2 separate regions of the Homo sapiens genome follow, and region 2 is linked to region 1. Evidence: promoter capture Hi-C in human tissues and cell types (Jung and others, 2019). All regions are on one chromosome and are shown on one strand. The core of a region is centred on a gene start or on the middle of the fragment in contact, and the rest is flanking DNA. Distances in the headings are between cores, read along the strand shown.

Region 1 (3,328 bases), core at 543-3,042:
GCTCTTTTTCTGATCCTGAGGAGACTGGCTGAGAGTCTAGTGCCTTTTGAAGGTCTGAATAGGAAACATTTGCCATGTATTGCCTCTGAGGGCGGACACCTATGAGATTTCATCCACATAATAAGGACCTCGGTCTCCACAGCCCCTTCTCTTAACCCAGACACTCCTTTCTATTGATTCCAAGCCTTCAGATAGTAACTTCTTTCAACCAACTGCCAATCAGAAACATCTTTGAATCCACCTATTACCTGGAGGCCTTTCCACTTGGAGTCGTCCTGACTTTCTGGATCAATCCAATGCACACCTCACATGTACTGACTGATGTCTTATGTCTCCCTGAAATGAATAAAACCAAGCAGTAAAACAACCGCCTTGGGCCAAGTTCTCAGGACGTCCTGAGGCTGTGTCATGGGTCATATTTGGCTCAGAATAAATCTCTTCAAGTATTTTACAAAGTTTGGCTTTTTTTGTAAACAATAGGCAGATATAAATTCCATTTGCTAATTTTTTTAAATGCTGTGTCTTGGTTCATGAAAGACATTGGTCTGTGGTTCTACTGTCTGGTGATGTCTGACTTTGCTATCAAGGCAATGCTGGCCCATACATCGAGCAGGGAAGTGCCCCTCCTCGTCCATCGTCTGAGTGGCTGGATTCCTATTATTTCTTCTCTAAGTAGGATTCACCAGCTTGGCCCTCTGGGCCTGGAATTTTCTGTGTGAGAAAATTTGATAACAAATTGATCTCAAATTTAACAGATAATAAGCATTAGTATTTTCTTTTTTGGTAACTGGCATCCTTCAAGAAATTCGTCCAATTATACCGTTTTGGGGGCTGCCTGCACTAGAGTCAGCGTGGCGTCCCCTCAGAAGGCCGGGTTTGCCAGCGCCGCGCCCCAAGCCAGGTCGGTCGGCCAGTGCTGGTGCCCTCGGGGAACAGCGGGAGCTGCCTGGAGGCTGCGGGGAGCGGCGGCGGCGGGCACGCACCTGGCTCCCGAAACCAGACCTTTAATAACGCCTCGCAGAAGGGGCGGGGTGGGAGGTTGGCAGCGCAGGGGCGGCAGCCCCGGATCCCCCCAGGTCTCCAGATCACCCCATCGAGCCCCGCGCCCTAGCAGCACAGTCCCTCCAGGGCTCCTTGGAGGGCCAGGCCTCAGCCCGGGTGCCCCCTCGCCGGGGCTCCAGGGTTGGGGGCACCCAGGAGGCCGCAGGTGTGGAGCTCGACGGCGCCCCCCGACTAGAAACCCAGGCTCTCATGCGCGGCTCCCGCCCCGACCCCAGCTCCAGAGGGGCGAGAGCACCCGGCGCCGACCCCGTCTACGGACCCCCTCCTCCGCCCCGCCCCCGCCGTCCAGCCCTCCCGCCCCTACCAGCCCCGGGCCTCCTCCCCACGGACCCGCCCCGCGCCACCAGCCGTCAGCCCTCCCGGCCCCCAGTCTCGCGTACCCTCCCCACTGGCCTGCAGGGTCCACCGACTTCCCGACCCCGGGACCTCCCGACCCCCGGACCTCCCGGCCTCGCGGACCCTCAGGAGCCCCTGCGTGGGCTGCGCCAGGGCGCCCGCGACAGCACCGCCGCGAACCACAGCCACGGCCTCCGGGTCTGCAATGGAACCTCTAGCCGCTGCGGTCAGGAGGGCGGAGACTCTGCGCACGCGCAGTTCCCCCTCCCGCCCCTGCTTGCCGGTGATGGCGCATAACGCATGCGCGGGGAGGGCGGAGCTGGGCGTTGCCGTGGCTACTGGGAACGCATTTCACGGGGGCGGGGCGTGGTTCCGGGGCGGGGCGCGGCCGCCGGAAGTGCGTGGCCGCCCGGGGCCATGGCGACACTCAGCTTCGTCTTCCTGCTGCTGGGGGCAGTGTCCTGGCCTCCGGCTTCTGCCTCCGGCCAGGAGTTCTGGCCCGGACAATCGGCGGCCGATATTCTGTCGGGGGCGGCTTCCCGCAGACGGTAAACGCGCGTCCACGGTGCCAACGCTGGGGTTCCAGGACCGGGCAGGGTCAGAGGATGGGATGGGGGCGGGGCGGGGTCAGGGGCCAGGGAGATGGGATGGGGTCAGGGGCAGGCCCACGGGATGGAGGGTGGTCCGGGGCCAGGGAGATGGAATGGAGCGGAGTTATGGGGCAGGGGCCAGGGGGATGGGATGGAGCGGGGTCAGGGGGCAGGGGTCAGGGGAATGGGATGGGGTCAGGGTTCTGGGGCAAGGAATGTGGCGGAGTAAGGGGCCAGGGTGATGGTATAGGGGCAGGGGGCAGGGGCCAGGAGGGATGGGATGGGGGCGGGGCAGGGATCAGGGCGATGGGATGGGATGGGGGCGGGGCAGGGGCCAGGGTGATGGGATGGGATGGGGGCGGGGCAGGGGCTAGGGCCAGGAGGGGTGGGATGGGATGGGGGCAGGAACGGGGGCCCGAGGGATGGGATGGGGGCGGGGCGGGAGCCGGGGCCAAGAAGGATGGGACGGGGACGGGACAGGGGCAGGGGCAGGGGCAGGGGCCGGGGCCGGGCTGGAGTCTGGGGGATGGGATGGGGCGGGGGCTGGGGGCAGGGTCGGGCCAGCGGGTTGGCTGTAGTCGAGGCTGCGTCACTGCGGCCCGGGTCTGCAGGCGGGGTCGTCTGCGAGGCCCGGGGCGCAGCCTCGGGAGCCCAGGAAGGGGGCCGGGTTGCTCAGGCTGAGCGTGGGCTGGCTCCGGAGGCCCCTGCAAGTGACACGGGTCCAGGCCTGGGTGTGCGGAGCCGGGAGTCAGTGCCGGGCGGGCGCTCCGCAGTGAATTCTCAGGGCCAAGACGAGCTTCGCGGCCGCCCTGTGGCTGTGGGATCTCCAAGCGGACCCCGGGAGGGGCCTGGACGCAGAGGTGTGCACGGCCCCTCGTGGCGTTCGCAGGCCTGGGCGCTGCACGCAGCTTCACTCGCGACGATGGGAGTATGGAAAACCAGCGCAGAGCAGGGAAAGGAGAGCGCCAGGGACAGGGTTTCTGTAGCCCTTGGGGACTTGTCTGTGCCTTGGGGACTTGTCTGTGCCTTGGGGCGCTTTGTGTCCTTCCTCTAGGGCAGTGATCTTAAAGTGTGTCCTGGATCTCTGAGCTTTTGTAGCCGTTTTAATAGTAGTACCAGAGTATTATACGCCTTTTTCACTTCTCATGAATGCACTGTGGAGTTTTCCTAGAAACCACTTGATCTGTGATGTCACAACAGATTGAATGCAGAAACGGGTATGGGAATCCAGCTGTCACCAAACCCAAAAGAGATTTGCAAAAATTAAGAACATCATCACAGTTCTTCTAATTCATTTTTTAAAATACACTTATTTTTTATTTAAATATGTGGTTTTTGTT
Region 2 (3,328 bases), core at 329-2,828, 1.2 Mb before region 1:
TCAGCCAGTTGATATTGGACAGCATCTTTTATTGGCTACTGTACTACTGGCATGATGGGCACATGGACAAGGTAGCCAAGGTGATGGACGCTGTTCATGGGCCTGACAGCAACCCATGCTCTCTACCCAGCTTTGGTTAATATCTAGCTGCCCCTGAATATCTAACCTGCCAGCAAAAGAGATCTACCCGGCTTTGGTTAATATCTAGCTGCCCCTAAATATCTAACCTGCCAGCAAAAGAGACCAGTGCTATACTCCCATTGTGGGTCACTTCATCAAGGAGCACAAACATCCAGGTTTACAGAGGTCTTTAGACATAGTCCCCATTTTATAAGGAGAGTTTACTGTATTGGAACTCTCCCATCCTGGAAGGGCTGGTGGTTCACTTTTCACAAGAATAGTCTCATATTCCAGATACGAGGCTTGTCTTTTCCTACTCACAAGTGTCAGCCAGAAAGGCTTAAGGAGTGTTTGTTTCACTGACATAAGCACACAACATTTCAAACGAGATTCACTTTATAGCCAAGGAAGTGTAGTGTCCATGGGCCCTCCTGCCTGGCAGAGCGCTGAGACAGCATGCTAAAGGCACAGCCTCCCAAAGGCATGAGCCACTGAGCCCGGCACTGAAGACTTCCTTGAAACCGTTCTTTGCAATCTTTCTGTTATTGACCAGCTGGACAGTGCGTAACTGCATGGGAATGCTTGCAGATCAGTAAATTCAGACACCTTCCTTTCCACATAAGATGGACCACCAGCTGTACCCTCCCAAGTTTTGCCAGCTGGAAATCTTCAAAAATCCAACCCTAAACTAGGTTGTAGTGTAGCAACCATCTTTTTGTTTGTTTTTTGAGACGGAGTCTCACTCGGTCTTCCAGGCTGGAGTGCAGTGGCGCGATCTCAGCTCACTGCAACCTCTGCCTCCCGGGTTCAAGCGATTCCCCTGCCTCCGCCTCCCGAGTAGCTGGGACTACAGGCACACGCCACCATGCCCGGCTAATTTTGTGTCTTTTAGTAGAGATGGGATTTCACCACGGTGGTCAGGATAGTCTCAATCTCCTGACCTCATGATCCGCCTGCCTTAGCCTCCCAAAGTGCTGGGATTTCAGGTGTGAGTCACTAGTGTAGCAACTATTTATGGTTCATGCCACCATACCGTATGGATCCGTTGGTAGAACAAACCTGTATTTTTTCGTCTTCTGTCAACTGGTCCTAGGGAGCGTCCCGTGAAACCACAGATGTAGACTGAGGGGTGTGAAGTAGAAGAGGCGGCAGCATGTGTTTGGTCACTCACTTGGGTCACATACTTATGCCTTCTGAATCTGTTCAGGCATAGTTTTGTGTATATTATTTCCAGTTTCAGTGGAATGCTGTTTATGTCCAGTTTAATGATTTGTGTATAGGCTGTCCTCCTATGGTATGCCTCATGCTTCTGTGGGCTGTATTGGGATCAGAGTCTTGGGGGTCTGCAAGCAAGGTGGTATTGTTGGGTTTTGAGAATCAGCATCTCTCTGTGAGGCACTGTATTTGTTCTCACACTGCTATAAAGAAATGCCTGAGGCCAGGTGTGGTGGCTGAGGCCTGTAATCCCAGCACTTTGGGAGGCCAAAGCCGGTGGATCACCTGAGGTCAGGAGTTCGAGACCAGCCTGACCAATATGGTGAAACTCTGTCTCTACTAAAAGTACAAAAATTAGTCGGGCCTGGTGGCGTGCACCTGTAGTCTCAGCTACTCAGGAGGCTGAGACAGGATAATTGCTTGAACCCGGGAGGCGGAGGTTGCAGTGAGCCAAGATTGTGCCATTTAAGCCTGGGTGACAGAGCAAGTCTCCATCTAAAAAAAAAAAATGCCTGAGACTGGATAATTTATAAAGAAAAGAGGTATATTTGGCTCACGGTTCTGCAGGCTGTACAGTAAGCATAGTGGCTTTTCCTTTGGGGAGGCCTCAGGAAGCTTCCAATCATGGCAGAAGACAAAGGGGGAGCAAGGCACTTCACATGGCTGTATTAGGAGGCAGAGAGAGGATGGAGGTGCCACACACTTGAACAACCAGATCTCGTGAGAACTCATTCACTGTCTGAGGACAGCACCCAGGTGTTAAACCATTCACGAGGAACTGTCCCCATGATCCAGTAACCTCCCACCAGGTCCCACCTCCAACATTAGGGATTAGAATTCAGCATGAGATTGGGCAGACACACAGATCCAAACCATATCAGGCATCCATCCCAGGTGCAGTCATTAAAAGTTTTCTATTCAGGCTTTTGAGGTGATTGTGGTGGGGCCCCTTCAAGGTGGGGGCTGGACACCAGAGGACCCAACCACATGATTGGAGGATTAGGATTTTCAGCCCCACCCTCAAACCTCTGGAGAGGGGAGGGGGTTGGAGTTTAAGTTCAATCATGTGATCAATAATCCAATCCATCATGACTATGTAATGAGGCCTTGATAAAAACTCTTAGCCAATGAGGCTTACAGAGGTTCTGGGTTGTGCTGTGTTGCGGGAAGTCAGGGACCCCAAACCGAGGGACCGGCTGGAGCCGCGGCAGAGGGACATAAATTGTGAAGATTTCATGGACGTTTATCACTTCCTAGTAATACTCTTATAATTTCTTATGCCTGTCTAATCTCAATCCTGTTATCTTCGTAAGCTGAGGATGTATGTCACCTCAGGTCCACTGTGATGATTGCATTAACTGTACAAATCGATTGTAAAACGTGCATTTGACGAGGCCAGGAGATCAAGACCATCCTGGCTAACACAGTGAAAACCCGTCTCTACTAAAAATACAAAAAATCAGCCGGGTGTGGTGGCAGGCACCTGTAGTCCCAGCTACTCGGGAGGCTGAGGAAGGAGAATGGCATGAACCTGGGAGATGGAGCTTGCAGTGAGCTGAGATGGCGCCACTGCACTCCAGCCTGGGCGACAGAGTGAGACTCCATCTCAAAAAACAAACAAACCAAAAAAAAAAAAAAACGTGTGTTTGAACAATAATGAAATCAGTGCACCTTGAAAATGAACAGAACAGCGATTTTAGGGAACAAGGGAAGACAACCATAAGGTCTGACTGCCTGTGGGTTCGGGCAAAAAGAGCCATATTTTTCTTCTTGCAGAGAGCCTATAAACGGACGTGCAAGTAGGAGAGATATCGCTAAATTCTTTTCCTAACAAGGAATATTAAGACCCTAGGAAAATAATTGCATTCCTTGGGGGAGGTCTATAAATGCTTGCTCTGGGAGTGTCTGTCTTACGCAGTTGAGATAAAGACTGAAATACGCCCTGGTCTCCTGCAGTACCCTCAGGATTGTTAGGGTGGGGGAAAAAACCACT

The links. The method cuts DNA at HindIII sites, captures the fragments that hold promoters and counts their contacts. A contact is called where the count stands out against the background at its distance.
Region 2: a contact is called between a fragment that was not itself captured here and the fragment with the promoter of POFUT2 in region 1, in 1 of the 25 tissues and cell types used here (dorsolateral prefrontal cortex).

Annotation. Positions count from the first base shown.
Region 1 is chr21:45,286,359-45,289,686 of GRCh38, reverse strand. It overlaps POFUT2 (protein O-fucosyltransferase 2), which reads left to right and starts at 1,792. Exons shown (of 9, transcript NM_133635.6): 1 at 1,792-1,946. The coding sequence starts at 1,816. It overlaps LINC00205 (long intergenic non-protein coding RNA 205), which reads right to left and starts at 1,635. Exons shown (of 3, transcript NR_026943.1): 1 at 1,443-1,635; 2 at 249-336. RefSeq lists an enhancer at 451-1,181 and a silencer at 1,336-1,865. The HindIII fragment of the contact is 23,447 bases long and covers 1-3,328 here.
Region 2 is chr21:46,448,963-46,452,290 of GRCh38, reverse strand. It overlaps LOC124905046 (a long non-coding RNA gene), which reads left to right. Exons shown (of 2, transcript XR_007067915.1): 2 at 1-3,328. Among named protein-coding and RNA genes, the nearest start is that of DIP2A, 8.3 kb to the left of the region's middle. RefSeq lists a silencer at 3,128-3,328. The HindIII fragment of the contact is 6,584 bases long and covers 1-3,328 here.